Regions from separate parts of the Homo sapiens genome. Here all the other regions are linked to region 5. Evidence: promoter capture Hi-C in 16 types of primary human blood cells and fetal thymus (Javierre and others, 2016). All regions are on one chromosome and are shown on one strand. The core of a region is centred on a gene start or on the middle of the fragment in contact, and the rest is flanking DNA. Distances in the headings are between cores, read along the strand shown. Region 1 overlaps CFAP418-AS1 (CFAP418 antisense RNA 1). Region 2 overlaps CFAP418-AS1 (CFAP418 antisense RNA 1). Region 3 overlaps CFAP418-AS1 (CFAP418 antisense RNA 1). Region 4 overlaps CFAP418-AS1 (CFAP418 antisense RNA 1). Region 5 holds the start of GDF6 (growth differentiation factor 6). Region 6 overlaps CFAP418-AS1 (CFAP418 antisense RNA 1).

What was found. The method cuts DNA at HindIII sites, captures the fragments that hold promoters and counts their contacts. A CHiCAGO score of 5 or more calls a contact.
Region 1: a fragment that was not itself captured here is called in contact with the fragment with the promoter of GDF6 in region 5 in 2 of 17 cell types (total CD8 T cells and endothelial precursors); the score reaches 5.3 in total CD8 T cells.
Region 2: a contact is called between a fragment that was not itself captured here and the fragment with the promoter of GDF6 in region 5, in 3 of 17 cell types (endothelial precursors, total CD8 T cells and naive CD8 T cells). The highest score is 7.8, in endothelial precursors.
Region 3: a fragment that was not itself captured here is called in contact with the fragment with the promoter of GDF6 in region 5 in 1 of 17 cell types (M2 macrophages); the score reaches 5.6 in M2 macrophages.
Region 4: a fragment that was not itself captured here is called in contact with the fragment with the promoter of GDF6 in region 5 in 1 of 17 cell types (M1 macrophages); the score reaches 5.3 in M1 macrophages.
Region 6: a fragment that was not itself captured here is called in contact with the fragment with the promoter of GDF6 in region 5 in 2 of 17 cell types (M0 macrophages and erythroblasts); the score reaches 5.4 in M0 macrophages.

What each region holds. Positions count from the first base shown.
Region 1 is chr8:95,276,346-95,279,925 of GRCh38, reverse strand. All of the region lies in intron 1 of CFAP418-AS1 (CFAP418 antisense RNA 1), which reads right to left. Among named protein-coding and RNA genes, the nearest start is that of TRS-AGA2-5, 8.4 kb to the right of the region's middle. The HindIII fragment of the contact is 739 bases long and covers 1,532-2,270 here.
Region 2 is chr8:95,299,385-95,302,894 of GRCh38, reverse strand. The region is part of intron 1 of CFAP418-AS1 (CFAP418 antisense RNA 1); the gene reads right to left. Among named protein-coding and RNA genes, the nearest start is that of TRS-AGA2-5, 31 kb to the right of the region's middle. The HindIII fragment of the contact is 3,932 bases long and covers 295-3,510 here.
Region 3 is chr8:95,625,085-95,628,675 of GRCh38, reverse strand. All of the region lies in intron 3 of CFAP418-AS1 (CFAP418 antisense RNA 1), which reads right to left. Among named protein-coding and RNA genes, the nearest start is that of TRS-AGA2-5, 360 kb to the right of the region's middle. The HindIII fragment of the contact is 3,179 bases long and covers 346-3,524 here.
Region 4 is chr8:95,343,159-95,347,067 of GRCh38, reverse strand. CFAP418-AS1 (CFAP418 antisense RNA 1) reads right to left here. Exons shown (of 4, transcript NR_038209.1): 2 at 2,623-2,785. Among named protein-coding and RNA genes, the nearest start is that of TRS-AGA2-5, 75 kb to the right of the region's middle. The HindIII fragment of the contact is 1,431 bases long and covers 854-2,284 here.
Region 5 is chr8:96,159,011-96,162,407 of GRCh38, reverse strand. GDF6 (growth differentiation factor 6) reads left to right here and starts at 1,602. Exons shown (of 2, transcript NM_001001557.4): 1 at 1,602-2,121. The coding sequence starts at 1,716. The HindIII fragment of the contact is 9,891 bases long and covers 1-3,385 here.
Region 6 is chr8:95,315,747-95,319,267 of GRCh38, reverse strand. All of the region lies in intron 1 of CFAP418-AS1 (CFAP418 antisense RNA 1), which reads right to left. Among named protein-coding and RNA genes, the nearest start is that of TRS-AGA2-5, 48 kb to the right of the region's middle. The HindIII fragment of the contact is 3,782 bases long and covers 1-3,217 here.

The sequences.
Region 1 (3,580 bases), core at 652-3,151, 880 kb after region 5:
TGGGCACTTCAATGCCCCACTTTCAATTGTGGATCAAACAACTATACAAAATATAAATAAGGAAATATAAGACTTAAAAAACACAATAAACCAACTAATAATAGATTTCATAGACATATACAGAACACTCTACCCATTGACAGCATCCACATTCTTCTCAAGTACATATAGGACATTTTCTAGGATTGGCCATATGTTAGGCTACAAATTAAGTCTCAATAGATTTTAAAAGATAGATATTATTCAAAGTATCTCCTTCAACCATAATAGAATAAAGTTAGAAATCAATACCGAAGTAACTGAAAATTTCACAAATTTTTGGAAATCAAACAACACACTCTTAAACAACCAACCAATGGATCAAAAAACAAATCACAAGGGAAATTAGAAAATACTTAGAGACTAATGAAAATGAAAACAACATACCAAAACATATAACACAGTGAAAGAAGTGCTAGGGGAGACATATATGGCTGTAAACACCTGCAGTAAAAAACAAGAAAGATCTCAAATCTACAACCTAAGTTTCAACTTAATGAACTAGAAAAAGAAGAGAAAACTAAACCCAAAACTAGCAAAAGGAAGGAAATAATAAAGATTGGAGCAAAGATAAGTGAAATAGAGAATAGAAAATCAAGAGAAAATCAATAAAATGTGAAGTTAGCTTTTTGAAAAGACAGACAAGATTGACAAAGCTTTAGCTAGACAGAACAAGAAAGAAAAGACAGAAGATTCAAATTACTAAAATCAGAAATAAAAGTGGGGACATTACTACCGATTCTACAGAAATAAAAAGGATTATAAGAGAGCACTATGAACAATTATATGCCAACAAATTGAATAGCCTAGAAGAAATGGAAAAATTCCTAGAAACACAAAACCTACCAAGACAAGATCATGAAGAAATAGAAAATCCGAACAGACCTATAAGTAGTAAGGAGATTGAATCAGTAATCCAAAATCTCCTGACAAAGAAAAGCCCTGCACTTGAGGGCTTCACTTGTGAATTCTACCAAACATTTAAAGGCAAACTAATACCAATTCTGCTCAAACCTTTCCAAAATATTGAAGAGGAGGAAACATTTCCTAACTTACGCTAGAAAGACCAAGGGACTTAAATAGCTTTCGGTTCTAAGAGTTTTAGTCATACTGTACTTAGAGCATGGATATTGATCTGGATTTCAGTCACAGGCCAGTGTGCAAATTCAGCACATGACTCCTTCCTTGAAATACAGACTTATAAACTTTTCCTGGCTGACTGAACTTGCTGGCCTTTTCCTTTACACTCATGTCTCTTTTCTGTGTATGTAGGATGGTTACTGGAAAATGTTAACAGTATACAGACACATGTTACACAAAACATGGCAATAAATGTAGAATAATGAAACTGGCAAGAGGATTACAAACTTATATGCAATAACAGACCTTGAACTGGAAAGATCCCCCAAACAAAAATTTAAGAATTAAGTTGTCTGGTTGAGAAAATTTGTCTGCCAAGTCCTCACAAGTAATTAGAAAATCAAATAAAGCTTATTCCTCTCCTAGTCTCAGTTTTGTTTTGTTTTAATGAGAAGGAGAGACAACAATAAGATAGATAATAAAGCATGTAAAATATAGTACAGCATGGTAAAATGAACATGAATTTTACAGTTAGACCCAGGTTATATGACCTTGGACTAATAACTTTACCTCTCTGTCCTTACTTCCTTTTTTTTTTTTTTTTTTTTGAGATAGGGTCTTGCTCTGTCACCCAGGCTGGAGTGTAGTGGCGCAATCTTGGCGCACTGCAACCTCAATCTCCTGGATTCAAGTGATCCTCCCACCTCGGCCTTCCTAGTAGCTGGGACCACAGGTACACGCCACCACACCCAGCAATTTTTGTATTTTTTTAGTAGAGACAGAGTTTCACCGTGTTGCTCGGACTGGTTTCCAACTCCTGAGCTCAAGTGATCTGGCAGCCTCAGCCTCCCAAAGTGCTGGGATTACAGGCATGAGCCACTATGCCTTTCTCTGTCCCTGTTTCCTGATCTACAGTGATTAAGTAAAATAAGTTCTATAAAGAGCTCAGAATAAGGTAGGTATGCAAAAAAATATGTTATACACATGATGATACTATAGCCAACACATCATTGCCAAGAGGCATGCAGAGACCTCGATACCAGGATGACAAGGAGATGGAAGCCATTCCAGTATGGCTCAAGCTAAAAGAACTGACCTGAGCTTGGGCTTATTTGTCCATCAGACTACATCACAGTATTTAAAGGCAAGCTTAATCTGATCCAGGCTGGCACTTATACCCAAGGGCCTAGAAATGGAGGCCTAGAAAGATATGACTGTGGAGATAGTCATAGTCAAGTGGTTAACAATTTGATTCCAGACAGACTCATTCATGTTAAAACATACCCTTGGCCAGGACCAAAAGAGATAAGGGGCTGATCCCCCAAAAACAGGGGTCAGCACAAGCCAGGAGTTTGTCAGGGCCCTTGTACTAGGCTGAAAAATGGCCCCCAAAATGATATCAAATCACATCGAATCCCTGGAACCTAAAAATGTGACCTTATTTGGAAAAAGAATCTTTGCAGATGTGATTGAGTTAAGGATCTGAAAAAGAGGCACTTATCCTGAATAATCTGGGTAGGCCCTAAATGCAATCACCTGTATCCTTATAGAATAAACACAGAGGAGAAGGCAATGGGAAGACAAAGGCAGAGATTATACTGATGTGGCTACAAGCTACAGAATGCCAAGGAATCCCAATAGCCACCAGAAGCTGGAAGCAGCATGGAGCAGATTCTCCTTTAGAGCCTACAAAGGGAGTATAGTACTGCCCATAACTTGATCTCAGACTTCTGGCCTCCAGAACTCAGAGAATAAACTTCTACTGTTTTAAGTGGTGATTTGTTACGGCAGCCCTAGAAGACTCCTACAGCCCTGGACAACGCTTTGGGGTTTGGACAAAATTTCAGCCCAAGAACAGAAATGGAATTCAATCTAGAAGTTGAGTAGAAGCCCATCCACAAGGGTTCATGGAGAAGACAGCAGTGTGGCATTTTGCTCAATGCGTACCAGACCTAGGCCATCCAGACCAATTCCAGATCTAACCATGATGGGGAGGAGCAAGTCTTGGGTTAGCTAGGAATTGGGTTCACCTTGCAGATGGGATATTTCAACAGCCACAGCCAGGCTGGGCAAACAGGAACTGGCAAAGCAGTGGGTGATGTTTTGGCAATAGATGATAAATGTCTTCTACAATCTGACCACATATAATTAGAGATAATGTCAGTTTCAAAAGGAAAAACACAAAGGGTCAGAAAATATGCTGCTCTTGCTGCGGAAGGAATCTGTCCAAGGACCTGGAATCACTAGTTCCTTCCCTTCACAGACCAGGCACACACTAGCCCTAGCTCTGGGGTACGGAGTGTGCCATCTGTTCTGGCCCTTTCTGTAGCCCCCATACCCTCTCTGGAACTAAGATCTCCCTGTGTGCTCAGGGAGACTCCTTCTTCAGCCAAGAGCTTCTGTGACTTGAACAGACCATTCTGTACCCATATTAGTAAGAAAGGAGAACTGGGAAAAGGAA
Region 2 (3,510 bases), core at 1,011-3,510, 860 kb after region 5:
AAGCGGTCAGCTTCAACTATCTAAAGAGAACTAGAAGATCCCTTTTACCTGGTCAAGCTCTTGACCTCTAATCCTGCCCATCCAGTCTCTCGATAATTTCACTGCACAGGCATATGTGACATCCTGTGTGCCGCCTTTGTCCATAACCCACAACCCACAGTAGGCTGCGGTGGTTCCTCAAAGCTGAGACAGGGTACTTTCATTCTAACAAATCCCAGCACGTGCTCCCCTAACATGTCTGTTTTACTAATTTTACATTATATACAATTTTTCATTTTAACCTAAAACAAAGCTTTCAGTTTTTCTCAAATAGCATGGCAGGTTTCATTAAATCAGATTATTGCCCAGTTCCCCCTTCTCTTTCATCAAAAGAAGGGAAGATAGAAGCAGAAGAAAAGTAGAAACAGTCCAAGGCAGTAATATAGCAAAGTGAAAAAATGTAAAGGAAGTTTAACTCTCATCCCTCCTCCTAGAGATCCAAGGTCTCAGAGACAGAACAGCAGCTTTTCTTTTTGCACCTCACACATTGAGAGAGACTAGACTTCACTTCCTGGCAGCCCTTTCCATTCCCATTTCACAGCAACGGCTGTAGACACAGCATTTCTATCTTAGTTACACCAACCTTTTGAGTTCTGAGCAGAGCACTAAAGACTCACGATGTGTTTAAGGCCAAGGTCGCTTGGGGACCAAGATAGAGAACCCAGAAACATGTTTGGAACTTCAAAAATGCTGGGGAGGTTGGGAGGCCTAGGAAGTGGGGGTGCAGGATTCACTGCAGTTGCCTCCATCCCCACCCTTCCACCACTAGCCTTAGATAAGCAGACAAGGGTTCCAGTCCTGGCTTTGCCTGGGACCTTGGAATAGCTCTGGCCCGAGATAAGCCTGAGAAGGGCTAGAGTTTGGAATGGTGGGTTTGTCTGCTTCATAGGAGTCCTTAAACCTGGGCCCAGGCATTTTCCTCCTGTCGGCCCCCAAGAGCAAACCCCAAACGAGCTGACTTCCTAGTGCATTGTAAGCACACCTGAGAGAAATCACAAGCATACTCTGAGAACAACCTCATATGGCAGACGCACCCGAATGTGTTCCGAGATAGGGAATCCGTAAGTCACCAACCCGGAGATTCATTCCTTGTCTGTTAGGAACATCTGAGCCCTCAGGCCGTCCCGTGGAACATTGGCCCTATGGGGGATGGAGGCCCTGAGTTTGGGGGTGGGGAGTGCGGTACATGAAAGCTACCAGGTGGAGATCATTAAGGAGAGGGTGTTAAATGAAAATGCTGTATAAACTGAATGCTGTTTGCAAGCAATTGTGGTTTTCCTGCCCAGCCTGCTGCCACTGGACCATACGTACAGTGGTTATATTGTCCAGCCCACCACCACTGGATTGTTTCTATAGGTAAGGTGTCCAGCTCGCCACCACTGGACCCTCTCCCCTGTAAGTAAGTCCCAGTAAAACCCCCAAGTCACATTTGCTAGCTCTAGGTCTCTTCTTTGGCCTCTTGAACTTGGTGCCTTCTCTATTGAGGTTAATAGGGGTTCAGCACAACACCTAGGCTTCCAGCACACCTCCCCATCACACCCCCCACCTCTTCTCCCCCATCAGATCCTGATTCTTTCCCTCAGCCTCAGAGTTCTGAACCCTGGCCCTATCCTCTAGCTATCAGCCCCAACTCTTGCCCACTGATATTTGAAGGTCTTCTTACCTCTCCTGCAGTTGCCGTTGTTCTCCCATAGATCCCTCTGTGGTCCCTCCATCGGCAAGTTCTTCCACGGCCTCAGAGAAAGACATCACCCTTCAGACTTTGGTTCTTTAGAATTTCATCCTGGTAGCCCCGCCTGTCCTCACCTAGGCTGCACTGATAAAGGTGCTGAGTCAAGCCCCCACGGCCCACCAAGGCAAGTTCTCAGGGCACCCCATCTTCCCAGTTGATCCCAAACCATTCCCTCTCACTCTTGTCTTGCTTACTATAAATCTTGCTTCTGTCTTCAGGCCCTCCAGATTAAAGACTTACCCATGCTCTCGTAGCACGGGAACCTCAGCTTTTCCCCATAGTTGGTGTCAACTCCCTGATCAAACTCAAACACCCCCATAACATGCTTCTATTGTTATCCCCATTTTACAGACACGAAAGTCTGCCAAAGAGAGCTTAGGCTGCTTGCCTAAGGAGTCTGAGTACAGACTCAAAATCTTCCTACACCAGTGGTTCCCAAATTTCAGTGGACATCAGAATCACCTGGAGGGAATCAGATGGCTGGGATTCAATCCCAGAGTTTGAGTCAGTAGGTATAAGATCTGATTATTTGCATTTCTAACAAGTTCCCAGGTGATGCCAATGTTATTGGTCTAGGGACCACACTTTGAGAACCACTCACCTACACTCTTGCTTCTGTACTTTTCACTACACTTTAAATAGGCCAATGAAGTCATAATCATTAGAGGTGAGCCCTAGACACCAGTGTTTTTTAAAAGCTCTCCAGATAATTCAAATGTGCAGGCTGATTTGAGAACTACTAGATATAGTCTTGCCAATCAAAGCATACTGGCAGCATCAACACCACCTGAGTCCACTCAGACCCTATTACCGGATGGAAGGTCTTGACTGAGTTGTCCAGGTTCTTGGCATGTTGAACAAAGAACGGAATAAAATGCACAAACAAAGCAACAAAAGAATGAAACAATGAAAGACAAACAACAACAAAAAGTAACGAACGCACAGATTTATTGAAGCGAAGCTACAATTCACAGAGTGGGAGCAGACTCCAGCAAGTGAAGCAGCACAAGAGCACCCCCCCCCACCAACAACAATTAGGCTTTTTATTAAGTTACAAAAGTTTAATAACTCCCCTAGATGCACTTTAGAGGCCTCCAATTGGTTACACCCTATGAAGGATTGGCCTGTGACCAATTAGAGGCTGAAGTGGAAACTTCTGTCTTGTTATCAGAGGAGCAAGGATGTGGCCTGTTTGCTGCCTAATCTTGCCTAGAACTCGCTGCACCTGCTGTTCTTTCCGTATACCTTAACCCTTGGTTACCCTAATTCCCTGTTCTCCTGCCTCACCCCCAGGTGATTGATATCTCATTAAAATTTAAGGAACGCTGATAAACACTCTACTGCCTCACAGTTCCTCCCCAGCTGTTCAGCCCTTTAACAGAGATCCCAGGCAATCGCTGTATCAGGTGGGGTTCTACCAGAGAAACAGAACCAGTAGGAGATCTTAGTAAGAGATGTGTTCCAAGGAATTAGCTTACAAGATTGTGGGACTGGCTAAGCAAGTCTTAAATCCAAAGGGCAGGCCATCACCCAGGACAGGTTGCAGCTCTCAGGCAAAGGCTGAAGGTGCTGTCCCCAGGCAGAATTCCTTCCACTCTCAGGGATACCTCAGCCTGCTTTTAAGCCCCTTCAATTGATTGAATCAACTCGGATTATTCAGGATAATTATCCCTTACTTAAAGTCAACTGCTATGGACTTTAGTCACATTTACAAAATACCCTCATAGTTTGAATGAATA
Region 3 (3,591 bases), core at 686-3,185, 530 kb after region 5:
TATAGGGGATTACACAGGTTAACTGGAAAAAAAAATTCAATGGAGTAATTGCTTTAAATCATTTTTTCCAAAAATGTGAGCATAAATTGATGAATGAAAAGAAACAGAGTACTCCTGGTAAGAACTGGAGTCTTCCACAGCTTTCCTTGAAGTCAGCTGCCAATCTATACAGTTTACTGAAATTACTAATAGCAAATTAGAAATTACCCAAAAGCACTATCTTCAACCTCTTCACTTTTCCTGATTCTAAGGAGATCTCAAGATTTGTCAAGGAAATAAGAATCTCAACATCACACACACACACACACACACACACACACACACACACACACAATGATAGAAGCTTGTAAGATGCTTTGATTTTTTTTCCCTTTACCTCCATAGGGGAAATAAAACTGCCCTAGAGACCGAAAAGCAAATATTTTTCTATATATTTTTAAAACCAGAAAAATGGAAACCTACATTTTTGCCTTTAAGCTATGGTCTATGGCTTGGACAGGTGGAATGAGAAAAAAAATGTAGTACCAAGACTCATCTCTTCTTTCTCTCTGGCTACATTCAAGAAAAAAAACGGAGCCCTCTGGTGGTAGAATTACTATATTCACAATTAAGTTTCTAACATAAACCCTTTTCAGTAATCTAGTGGCAAAAACTTAAATTTTATATCCAGAAACTTGGCAACTCTTAATCTTCAAAGAACATTTTATTAAAATGAGTGTAGCTCTTTATATAGTCACTAGTTTTATATAGCTCTTTATTTTATGTAGCTCTTTGTGGTATATGTATGTTTGGGGGAGCAGGGGTGGTCCCTGGCAAGGGGTTTAAAGCTAATAAATATTTAAATTCTAGAAATGGCACTTCTTAAGTTATGTCGATTAGAGGTTAGAAATAAGTTCCAGAATCACTCCAACAATTAGATCATTTTGATAGTCCCTCACCCTCTCAAATATAAAATAGTTTCAAATATCAAAATATTTGGTAACCATTGTGGTTTATTTGGAAGTTTTACCACATCCTATATCTAACATTTAAACTTCTTCATTGGTAGTTACAATTGTTCCTTTGCAAAGCACCATGGAAACATGTAGCTTATAAGACCAATGAGTTTATGAGAGGTAAATTAGGCTATCACTTTTATAAGATGCCTTCTAGTTCATAGGAATTGTCTTTTGGAACTTAATCCTGTTGACTTTGGTGGTCGATGGGAGGCAAGAAAAACTATTCTTTGGTTCCCACATTTTTCCCCCTCACTGCAGGGAAACAAGAAAACACAGATGCCAGGAATGCAGTCATTAGCAGAAAAAGTTCAACTGCCTGGTAAAATTAAGGAAAAAAAGACAACAATTGCCTAATTTGATTCTGAAAGTTTTTGTTTTATTTTTAATCATCTAGAGTTCAGTTTGAAATAAGTTGATTGATCTAGTACCAGCTAAAAGGTACTGCTTTACTTCAAAGGCTTTGTTGGGAAATATCATTTAGTAGTGTGAAAGGTCAGAAGTAGGGTAGACACACGTTTTATATAACTCACCACATAAGCAAACTTTACCTAGCCATTACTTCGTTTATTTCCTTAGAGCTCACTCTGGATAATTCTCAGACTCGTGTTTTATTTTCAGAAAATCGAGTCTCCTCTCTTCTTCAGTCACACAAATTGCATCGGTTCTTAAAGAAAGCCATACCTCAGGACCTCACAAAGAGGTATCTATTACCAGGAGCTCTAAGCAAATGTTCTTTTAATTAGCTACATTTATCTTTAATCCCTGTTTTGACAGAAACTCTAACATAAACATACATTACCAATACATAAAACCCAGCTCAAAGTATGGTTAATTTTTATATTTGACAGAGCCAGTTGGAAAAAATAACTTTGCCCTTTCTCCATCTTTGTGTGATGTCACTACAACCTAGTCTCAGAACCAAAGACAGAAACAGTGGCATCTGCAGCTACAGCACAATCATGACTCTTAAACTGCTCCTTAAAAGTGGCAATAAAAACCCTAATAAGACCTCTGGGCCTTATGTTGAAGCAGCTGCAAAATCAAGTTAAATAATTTTTGCAAAGACTACAGTAATTATAAAACTGATTAAAGTTTACCTACACTTCATTCCTAGAGGGTTTTCACCAAGGACTTAGAAACCAGATGGTTCAAGACTATGCATGATGGATATATTCCATGAAGCATGTCCGTTGTCATGGAAACAACAGAAATAACATTATCTTTACTGTCTATTCCTTCACAAAACCATGCATTCAAAAGTTGCCACCAATTTAAGTAAAATTCAAACAAATATTGGATACCAGGTCAAAAACCAGCACCTCTACCCACATTTAATCCTAAGGCCCGACTGCTGGATTCACTTAAATGTCTTTAGTGAATACAGCTACTTTCTATAGGAGTGTTCAAAGATAGTCTTCATAATTTTCAGAATTTTAATACTTTTTGAAGAGAATTGGAAAAACTAAAGATTCTGAGGGATGGGAGCTGGGGCTCAGAGATTACCCCTCTCCAAGACGGGAGAATTGTTAGAGAGAGATCATCTGCCCCGGATGGCCCTGTGGCAAAGCAGCTCTGCTTCTCCCTAAAGCTAGCTCTTCTGGCTACATCCAAAACTTATCCCTACTTTCCTGCTAAGGAATTATTTTATCAAACTTATGCTTTCTTTCTGCAGCATCTTCAATCATAGCAATAACAACAATCAAATATGTATTGAGCACCTAGTATGTGCCTGACATGCATCATGCCATTGCATTCTCACAACTGCTCTACAACATAGGTATCATCATTGTCCCTTGTTTTTGTTTGTTTTGTTTTGTTTTGTTTGAGACGGAGTCTCACTCTGCCTCCCAGGCTGGAGTGCAGTGGTGCGATCTCGGCTCACTGCAAGCTCCACCTCCCCAGTTCACATCATTCTCCTGCCTCAGAATCCCCAGTAGCTGGGACTACAGGCGCCTGCCACCACGCCCAGCTAATTTTTTGTATTTTTGGTAGAGACAGGGTTTCACCGTGTTAGCCAGGATGGTCTCGATCTCCTCACCTTGTGATCAGCCCGCCTCGGCCTCCCATAGTGCTGGGATTACAGGCGTGAGCCACCACGCCTGGCCCATTGTCCCTGTTTTAAAGATGAGGGAACTAGAATGATAATACACACATGAATCCTCCAGGCATCTTTTCAAAATACACAGACCTGAGGCAAAGACCAGGATTCTGCATTTCTAACAGGCTCCGGGTGCTACAAATGAATGTTAGTCTGTAGACCACACTTTGAGTAGCAAGGACTTGGTTGGTTAAGAATCGTTCCCCATCTGTACATGTATCCCAGGACTTGAAGTAAAAAAAGAAAAAAAGAAGCATGTCCCAAACACCCACTTCTGTACACTGAGGTCCAGTTCTTAATCACTATGCTCTCTTGTCTCTCAATCCATTATTCTTAGCAGCCTCTACTTAAAAGTAAACAACTGCAGCAACTAAAAGTTCTTAAAAACCCTGACAACTACCAACCCACTCTTTCTCCTCAACCAAGCTTTTCAAACCAAGAGTTTGTACCTGGATCTCTGGTGTTCCTATACTATCTACTTCACTGCTGCTCTGA
Region 4 (3,909 bases), core at 320-2,819, 820 kb after region 5:
TGGTAGCTCACACCTGTAATCCCAGCACTTTGGGAGGCCAAGTCAGGAGGATAGCTTGAGTTCAGGAGTTTGAGACCAGCTGGAGCAACATGGTGCAACCCCGTCATGAAAGGAAAGGAAAGAAGAAAGGAGAAAGGAGAGGAAAGGAGAGGAAAGGGGAAGAAAGGGGAGGGGAGGGGAGGGGACGGGACAAGGAAAGGGGAAAGGAAAGGAGAAAGGAGAGAGAAGAGAGGAGAAGGGAAAGGGAAAAAAAAGGAAAGGAAAGGAAAAAAGATAAGAAAAAAAGGAAGAAAAAAGAAAAAGAAGGCAAGAAAGCAAGCTAGCAAGAAAGAAAGACCATTCCAGATCAACCAATACACCCTATGGGCAAGATGCGGAGACCTCCCAGTTCTTTGTCCCTGCATCCATGCAGCTGCAAGGGGGAGCTGGTGGTCAGGACTTTGATGGGAGCATCAGAGGCTTGAAAAATAGGCAGACACTGTTCGCCTCAGCAGTTCAATGTCTAAGCACCTAGCCTAAAGAAATAAACAGAGTTATGAGCAAAAATGTGCAGCTCAAGGATGTTCATTGCTGTGTTGCTTATGGTAGAGAAAATGTACCACCAAACCAAATCTGTAAGGTAAGAGATAAAATACAATGCATATCCTTGTACTTAAATTCGGTGCAACTATTAAAATCCTATTTTAGAAGAATATTTAATGACATGAACAAACTGTTCATGAAGTATTGAGTAAAAAGAACAGATTCCAAAACAAAACATACTATACAGTGTAGTATACATGCTACACCACGTGATGATTAAAACTCAAACTGAGTTTAAAGGTTCCTTTGCCACTTACTATCTGTGTAAGCTTGGGCAAGGAGTTAAACTTTCTGTGATCAGTTTCTTCATCTATAAAATTAGATTAAAACAGTACCCACTTTATGGAGTTATTGTGAGGTTATATTACTTATTATACAATAAGGCACATGCTAAGAATTTAAACAATAGCAATTATGAATATTGCATGACCTTAATTTGTGATAAATGTATGTGGTATATGAACATATATATATACTTGCACTCACACATCGCCATAATATATATGTATGTTATGTATGTTTTCCTGCCTATACTTGTACAAGAGGAAGAGAGAGGGAAGGGGAAACAGAGAAAGGAGACTGAAAGTTTTAAAGGATTAACACAGAGAATGTTAAAAGGGTTATCCCAATAGAATTATGGATGACTTCTCTTCTTTGCATTTTTCTCTATTTTCAAATTTTTCATGAGAATGATTACTTTAATGACTATTAGGGTCAGAGAAGATCCCCTACTTCATCCATGCTCTGAACCAAGTTAGAGAGTGTCAAGGACTCAGCAAGATGGAGATCCCAGTATCATCCTTATTATTAATAAACATTGTGCACATGTGTATGTACGTATGTCATGGCCAAGACTGGCCAAGAAACATGATAACTTTCCACGGGATTGAGCTTATGCCAAAACCCCAGGCTCCAGTCTGGGAAGAGTTCATGCCTTGCCAGGCTTCCTGCCAGTCTAAAGGTAGAGAAAGATGCTACTGCCTTGGGCTCCCAGAGAGAGGGCTGACCTGGCTGGGCTCTCAGCCCCATTCCTTCTCCAAAGCTCTCCCACCTTGAAGGAGTAAGAAAGGAGGCCAGGAGTATCTCTCCAGTGGAGCTCCCTTTGCTCTGAAATGTGAAGTCTTGGGAAAAGTCCCCCAATCCCAACCACCTCCCAAACACAGTAACTAGAAAAGCAATGTTAAGGGAAGTCCAGACCCTCCAAGGTGTGGGTTCCAGACTTTCAGAGCAATTTTGAGATTGTGATCCCTACTGTAATATATTCGACAGGACCTCTCAATAATCACTGATAGTTCAGGTTCCCCTCTGAGATGTAAAGGAAAACCTCACATCAACTCTGATGATCTAAGTTCGTCGCTGATTATGGGAAAGAATGACCTGCTGAACTTTCGCTTTCAAAGGGTATTTAAAAAAAGAAAAGGAAGAGAGGCCATGCCGACTTTTAGATTCAATCACATCACAGTGATCTGTGATATTTACAGCGCCCAGGTGCATTTCACCTGATCCAAAATATAAATACCCTTTTGCATGCATAGGTACGCATGACCTGCTGTTTAGCCTTTTAATCACAAGGAAAAAAATACATTTATTTTCTGAGAACTGTAATGTATAAGCCCCTGAAGCACTCTGTAGTGCAGCATCTGGAATTCATCACCAAGGTTATGCTATTCAAACAGCCAGAATAAGGGAGATAGGCTAAGCTTTCAAATGTATACAAACATGGAAGTGGGCTGAGGCAGGGCAGATTAAAAGCCCATCTTCAACTTGATTTTGCTCCTGAACAATTAATTTGCAGGTTGAATGGAATTTACTAATAGGACTAAGGCTGCCAAAGCCATTAAAAACATTGATCTAGAAGCAAAAAGCTGGGGGAGGTTGAAAGTCTTCAAAAAAATCCAGATACCTCTCAATATATGGCTGTTTTTTTAGACTTAAGGGTGTGTGTGTGTGTGAGTTGCTTCTCATTGCTGAAAACCAGAATCCTACCACATTTTTACCATAAAATAATCAGGGTGGTGTTCTGTAAACTGTCCCAGGTACCTTACTGGGGCTTCCTGCCCCTCAGAAGTGCTGCAACTTTGATGAGCTTTTAAGTAATGGATCATTCACCAGGCGTCAGACTGCCTTGTGCCGAGCACTGCTCTTAGTGAGGGTTTTATAGCCCAGATGAGCACCTAAGTCACCCTGACAAGGCAGAGCACACCTGCAAAAGAACCAAGAGCCACATGAGGGAATTCCCAGGTCAGACACCTAGACTGAAGAAGAGTATGAATCATAGAATCACAGCTGACTTTAAATCCTGGCCCTGTTTCTTTAGAGGTTGGAAGGCTTTGGGTACTGACCACAGATTCCCAAAATGTCAGAACCAGAGAAAGCCTGAGAAATGGTATAGGCTGAGTGCTTTTTAAAATTTTCTTTAGACATAGACGTTGACCTTCAAACAATAATTTTCTGTAGAAATTCAGACGTCACAGAGCTAATTTGTTTTTTGCAGGGTGAGGCGGGGAGCAGGGCAGAAAATGCCTGCTTGCTACTCACCCCCATGCCTGCAGTGATACCCTTGAATCACATCCACAAGACTCCCAAGTACCCAAATAACACAGAAAACTAGTGGTCTCATACACCCCTTGTGTTTTACAGTTGGAGAAACTGAAGCCCAGAAAAGCAAAGTCACTGCCCCAGTGTTACTCAAGGGCTGAATGACAGAGCCAGATCTGGGATCCAGGATGTTTTGCCATGTGATGATGATGGTCAGCCCCTCCAAGGGATCAAAAAGAAGGGGAAAGAAGAAACTTGTCTCTGTGGTATTCCCCACCCTCCCAGCTAGCACCCTCTTTCTGTATTATCTCTCAGTTACCCAGTGCCCTCATCCTAACCTTCTGTTGACAAATATTCTCCCTCCACCACTCATGTAGCACACTCTGGTCTTCCCTCCCTGAAGTATCCTATCCTCCAAACCTCTTCTGTCTCTTACTCCCTCTTAAAACTTATCTGTCCACTCTCTTGTTCACTTAAGACCCCACTTGCTGATCAACATGTTGGCAAATAGATCCATAAACATATTTTTGGATGCTTATATATTATCTAATTAATTTCTATAATTACATTTTGACAACAGCCTTCTAAATGCTCTTTTTAAAAAATAACTGTAAGAGGATATTCATGCTGATCACCAGGAAGTTTTAGACATGTGTTCTTTCAACTCACACGATGCCTTACCTGGACAGTAAATACCAGGATGACTCCACCAGCAGCATCAGTCACTCTGGCCACACCTCTGACCCCAATCATGCTCTCATTTCTCACTCACCTCCAAACCCAGCCAAC
Region 5 (3,397 bases), core at 353-2,852:
AGAGACTGGGAACACACACAGAAAGTAGCATGGCGGAGAAAGAAGCCACCTGAGATCAAGTGAAACCATAAAGAGAAGAAAAAAGCCAGAACTGAAATAGAGAAGTTGGGCCAGGAATGACTGTCTATGCTGTAGTGGGAAGAATCTTGGGCTTGGGGTGGGAGCCTGGGTTCTGTCCCTTGCTGCATAACCTCTTGGCAGAGTGGCCTTGGAAAAGTCACTTATTTCCATTGAGTCTTTTTTTTTTCCATCCGTGAAGGTGAAAATAGTCAACGCCAACCTCACAAAGCTGTTGGCACGATTAAAGGAGGGTACTTTATGGTTGGTGCCTGAGCACCCAATCAGTACTGAGGGAAACTCTTCTGCCCATAGCAGTCCAGGGCAGAGCACTGTGGCAGACAGAAGCAGCGCTACGCCGCATCGCCTTTCAGCGTGCAGGCCCAGGAATGAGCGAGGCAGTGGGCGGGGAAGACAGGCACGGGGAATCTGGGGACAGATAAAGGAAACTCGTGATGGGGCGAGGCTGGGCTGAAGAGAAACAGATTGGGGTAGAGCTGCAAAGGGAGGGGTCCACTGGAAGGCGAGGGGGGAGGCCGGGAAGAGAGAGGGTGGGAAGGCAGTGTGAGATGGGAGGGCAGTGTGAGAAGAAAAGCAGGCTGGGGAAGAGGGATTGGAATGCAGAAGGAACTTGGGGAAGGAGGAAGTCCTGCAGGCGGGAGGGAAAGAAGAGAGGGAAAATGGGGATGCAGTGGAGGCGGGGGGCAGGCCGCGAGAGGGAGAGGATCCCGGGAGCAGACGAAGAAGTGGAGCAGCTAAAGTCTGCGTCAGAAGAGGTTGGGGACTGCGAGAGGAGAGGCTGGGGCCTGCAGGGGAGCGCAGCAGCTTTTAGCATCGATCCAAACTCTAAAGACTCGTGGCCTTTGCCTGACCTCGAGGGTCGGGAATAGACGCCTGTCTTTGTGGAGAGCGATACCCAACCGAGAAAATGGGGCTGTTCCGAGCTGGGCCCTGCGCCTGGCCCAGGGCGAGGCTTCTCTGGCTCCGGGCTGGCCCCTGAGGGGCGCAAACGGCAGGCCTGGCGGTTGGGGCCGAGGAGGGAGGGTACCACCGCCCCGAGGCAGCACGCAGCCTGCAGCAGAGGCGCCTGCTCCAAGCTGTCTCTTGGGGGCGCCGCCGCCGCTTCCCTCCTCCGGGGCCGCTCGCTCCCAGGAAAGTGGAGGCGGCTGGCGAGGACCGAGAGCCGGGGCCGCGCTGCGGAGGGACCACACCTCCGGGAGTTCGAGGGGGACCCTGGCGCGGCGGGCCAGCCTTTGCTCCCCGGCCACGGGCCGGCAGCGCCCGCCTTCCCCCGGTCAGCGCTTGCGGCCCGCGCCGCGCGCACCGCCCGGCAACCCCGCGCGCGTCCCGCGGGGGCGCTGCGTCTTCCTGCCACACCGGCGCACCGCGGCCCCTCTCCCCCACACCTCCGGCCCGCACCACCCGGCTCTCCTCCCACCCTCCCCACCCCTCCTCTGCCCTCCCTCCCCATTCCTCCCCTCCCGGCGAGGGGCGGGAGGGGGCGTGGCGGGGCCGGGGTTTGTGTGGCTGGGACCCGGCTCCTCGCACTCCGAGTCCGCCCGAGGAGCCGGGCCCCGGCCGCTGTCCAGCCGCTCCGTGCCCCGCGCGTCCTGCGCCGCCGCCACCGCCTCCTGGGGAGACGCAGCCACTTGCCCGCCATGGATACTCCCAGGGTCCTGCTCTCGGCCGTCTTCCTCATCAGTTTTCTGTGGGATTTGCCCGGTTTCCAGCAGGCTTCCATCTCATCCTCCTCGTCGTCCGCCGAGCTGGGTTCCACCAAGGGCATGCGAAGCCGCAAGGAAGGCAAGATGCAGCGGGCGCCGCGCGACAGTGACGCGGGCCGGGAGGGCCAGGAACCACAGCCGCGGCCTCAGGACGAACCCCGGGCTCAGCAGCCCCGGGCGCAGGAGCCGCCAGGCAGGGGTCCGCGCGTGGTGCCCCACGAGTACATGCTGTCAATCTACAGGACTTACTCCATCGCTGAGAAGCTGGGCATCAATGCCAGCTTTTTCCAGTCTTCCAAGTCGGCTAATACGATCACCAGCTTTGTAGACAGGGGACTAGGTAAGTGGCAAAGAAAACGCTCGACTCCCCTCCCGCTGGAGCTCGGCAGCCAGGGAGCTGTTCCCGCTGGAGGCTACATTTGTGAATTCCCTTCCTGCTCTGGACACTTCCTTTTTACTTTTCTTAAATTGTTTTTCTCAAGCTCGAGTAAGTTTCTGAATGTGGCTGCGGATTCTATTCCAGTCTCTAAACCTCCCTTCCTTTCCCCCCCTTTCTTTCTCTCTCCCTTCTTTCCTTCTTCCTCTTTTGCAGAAGGCAGCGTGGTTGCCGCTTGTTGGTGGCTGGTGGGGGAAACGTGGAGGACGGGAGGCAGCAGGCGGATGAACCCGGCTGGAGAGGGGTCGGGATGGGGACTGATGGAATCGGTGTCTCGGGATACTGGGTTCGCAGTCCAAGGCCTGAGCTGCTGGGGCAGATCTAGGGCATGAGACAGCCTTGGAAAGCCCTGGGCAAAGCCGGCACTAGGGAGTCCCACAGTCTGAGGAACTAGTCCGCGAGCGGCGTCGGGCAGCCCCCTGGTCCTGGCGCCGCGCGGGTTTTCCGTTGGTCCCTGCGCTGGGTGGGATGGTCAGCCGGGCTGGAGCCCTGCGCCCTCCGGCTTTTTTGCTCCAGCGTGGTGCTCCCGGCTGCTCCGAGGCCTCAACACGAGTGGTTTCTGCAGATGCGGCGGCAGCAGTTGGGCGGGCCGGGACAGGGACGGCTAAGTTCGGAGGTTGTGGGTACTTAATACACAAAGGTACATGGGTATGCCCATCCACCTTTCTCAGCCAGGCGACGTTCCTCTCTCTACGCTATTCCTGAGGGCTGGTGGGGGTCTGGGAAATCCCTGGTACCCTCTGTGGGAACGCCTGCATGTGTGGGTGTCTGCGGAAACCCTTGCGGCCCCTTCTTGCCACCGGCGTTGATCTGCAGCGTGGCCAGTGCCCTCAAGAAAACCTCGCACCACCTCTGGTCCCAGAAATCAGGGAAGGATCCACAGGCATCGGAAACTAAGCTCCTAAAGGAGAGAGACAATAATGTGGAAGGAGACAGGAAAGGAAGGGAGAAAAAGGAAAGGAAGAGTAAAGAGAAGGAAGGAAGAAAATGACGGGATAAAAGCGATTTAGGCAGATATCCACTCCTCCATCCTCCCTAGACTTAGCTCCATGACTTTGACCTGCTCCCAGTTAAGTGGGGTTGCCCGGAAACCTTGCAGCGCTGGGGTTCGGGATTCGGAAGCTGCTTCAGCCACTGCTACCCTGGGTGCTCGCACATCTCTTAAGCTTTTTAGAGCAGG
Region 6 (3,521 bases), core at 77-2,576, 840 kb after region 5:
CTGGACCTATATTTCACACACATCATCCTTATAACCCAGAGAGAGGGAGATACTGTCATTGCCACATTACAGATAAGCAAACAAGCCCAGAGAGGCATTTAATTAGAATCACATAGCACAGATGTGTCTTAAGATGAGATTTGAAAAGCATAGCATGTGCTTTTTTTTTTTTTTTTTTTTTTTTTTTTTTGAGTTGGAGTCTCATTCTGTCATCCAGGCTGGAGTGCAGTGGCATGATCTTGGCTCACTGCAATCTCCATCTCCCGGGTTCAAGCAATTCTCTGCCTCAGCCTCCCGAGTAGCTGGGATTACAGGCATCCGCCACCACGCCTGCCTAATTTTTGTATTTTTAGTAGAGACTGGGTTTCACCATCTTGGCCAGGCTGGTCTTGAACTCCTGACCTCATGATCCACCTGCCTCAGCCTCTCAATGTGCTCATGTGCTTTTTACTACATCTTTGTGTTAGCCAGCATTCTTCCAGAGAAACGGAAGCAATAGGAGATAGATAGATAAAAGTGGAGATTTATTATGGGAATTGGCTCAGACAATTACGGAGGTGGAGAAGTCTCATGATATGCCATCTGCAAGCTGGAGAACCAGGAAATCACTGGTGTAATTCATCTGAGTCCAAAGCCTAAGAACCACAGAAGCTAATGATACAGGTCACAGGTCAAGTCTAAAGGCCTGAGAACCAGCAGCAGAGGGAATAGGGAGCTGGCGTTGGCTACTGGGGTAAGCCCTGGAGTCCAAAGGCCTGAGAACAAGGTGCTCCGATGTCCAAGGGCAGGAGACGATAGATGTCCTGGCTCTAGAAGAGTAAATTTGCCCACTCTCCACCTTTCTGTTCTATTCAAGCACTCAATGAATTGGATGATAGCTGCCCACATTGGGGAGAATGGATCTTCTTTACTCAGTCCACAGATTCAAATGCTAATCTCTTCTAGCAACGCCCTCACAGGCATACCCAGAAATAATGTTTTATCAGCTATCTGGGCATCATTTTACCCAGTCAAGTTGACACCTTAAATTAACCATCACAGTTGCTGTCTTTCATGAAAGGAGAACCATCACATCCATGTTCAACAACTAACTAGAAAAAGTTATCAGGCCTTTGCCTGAACCTACAAGAAAGTTGAGAACAAAGAGCTACAGTTGTTGCTTAGAAAATTTTTTAGATCATCTAAGAAGACAAAACCATTTTATTGTTCTCAAATAAAAAGATCTGTTTGCCTCAGACTATCATTTAAACAGAGTTTTTGGCTCAGTGGTGTACAGTCATTTGGTTTACCTTTCAGTAATATCCTGATGTCAAAAGGTAAGGAACAGGCTAACATTTTCAAACAGCGCATGGAAGGTTTGAGTCATATTGTTCCCTTTGTCAGAATCTGGAAGATCTTGACTTTCCTGCAGTTTCCTTTAGCCTTTTTGTAGTGTGGAGGATCTGATTCTTGGTGAGCTTCTGATTATTAAGTTGTTTGGTGTTTTTTTACACCACTGTGACCCACAGTCTCTGTGCAGGCCATATGGCTGATAAGAAACAGTATGTCCCTTGTTGCATAATTTCCTATCCGAAGTCATGCCAGGAAGACAAGATATGAAAGTTAAACAGACTGGAACTCTTCTACCCTGCTGATAAGAATGTAAATAGGTACAACCAGCTTGGGAAAATGTTTGCCTGGCAGTGCCTACTAAAGCCAAACACGTGTATGCCTGTGATATAGTCTTTCTTCTCTTGGGAATATCTCAAACAAAAATCAGTGGTTTCAAACACTAAAAGACTTGTATAAGATTGTCACTAGCAGCTTTATTGTAGAAAGTCATTACTGGACACAACCAAAGTGTTCATCATCCATAGACTATGACATGGCAATAAAGAAAAAACTACTGATACTCTCAACATCATGGATAAATATCACAGATATAATGTGCTTCCCTATCATGTCAGTAGCCTGCTCAAGGAGCTACAGGAGCCTCAGGTTGTCTTTCCTATGAGATATAAATGTGCCTTCACTGTCCCAGTCCCAAGGAATCAAATTCTTCTCTTGATTCACCCCATGAAGACCCCTCCCTTGCAGCCAGGGAAGTATCTCCTATGTTAGTCTTATTCACTTTCATTATTTGGAGTCAAGTAACCCTAAATTCTACTATCACCTCTAATATTCTTTGCATAACCCTAGTCTTAGTTTCCTCCTCCCAAATAAAGCAAAAAATTCCTACCACATTGTAAATTAATAAAGGAGATTTAATTTTTGAAGACAGTGGTAAAGCACTAGCACAGTGTCAGGCACGTATGACTGCTCAACAATAATTAGTTTTCTCACCTACCTGGCTTTTCCATTCGCATTTCTTCTCAGCCATCTTCCAGCCTGGAATTAGCACTTCCCACCAACAACTCCATAAACTCCCCTCTAAGAAACATGCCCTGACAAAACCAACTCTGTCTCCACTTTGATTTCCACATAATCTGCATTATCTATAGTCTAAACTAACTACAAATATGCATGCTTTATCTGTAAATACTTCCTTTATCACATCCCTCATTCAGGCCCCATCCTGGAACCCAGAAATGTACACACAATGAATTCTCAATCACATGTGGGCAATTTTAATTGTTAGGTATGGGAAGAACTGGTGAAAATGCTGCATGATGGTAACAACTACCTGTTAGGCTGACTTAAAAAGAAGGATTTAGACATGTTAATAAACGATCTACACTTCGGTAACTATTAGTCATGCTTGCCCAAGCAACTCAAGAGTAAGGAAAATATCCATTTTACTAAATTACAAGACTAAAGAACTATTAGGATAATTATCCCATAACAAATGCCAGAAATAAGTGGTTATATTGACTTAATTTTATAGACACTTTCCAAAGTATATATTCTAGCCTTACCAAAAAAAGGGCAGTACCATTGCTCAGATTTTACTAATCCATGAGCCCCTGGGAAGAAAGCCCTAGGTTTATCCTATAATGGCAGCTGGCCACTTTTTCTGTGGACATAAAAGAAATTCAATTTCTCCGGACACTTTTTTCCTCTGCTACCAATGAGCTCCAGGGACTGGTAAACTCCTAAAGGAAAACTATTAAAAAAAAAAAAAAAAAAAACCATAATCCAGAAAAAACAAAATCTAGCTAGTTAAACTATCACCAATAAGAAACATAAACAGGAACCATTTTCAGTTGCTTGGAATCAAAAGCTCAATTTTTAAAAAGCTTCAAAACAAGAGTTTACTGTTTCCCGGACATCTGCAGTTGAAAAAACACAAAAACAGTTCTGGAAAGTGCTATGGTTTACTTCATACTGAGTGATTCCCAGGTGCAGAGGGGACTACTGGGGCAGAATAAAAAATGAAATGAGCATGAAGCAAAAGTTTTTCAGAGCCACATTCATATGCACCTTTCTCCAACCTGGTTGGTGACTCTTCAGGTATAAATGTGGCATGGGGTGGATTGTTCGAGAACAGCCTTATCCTTGGGAGAGTTTAATGTACATTTCCCTCTGCCAGGCTCCACACAGAC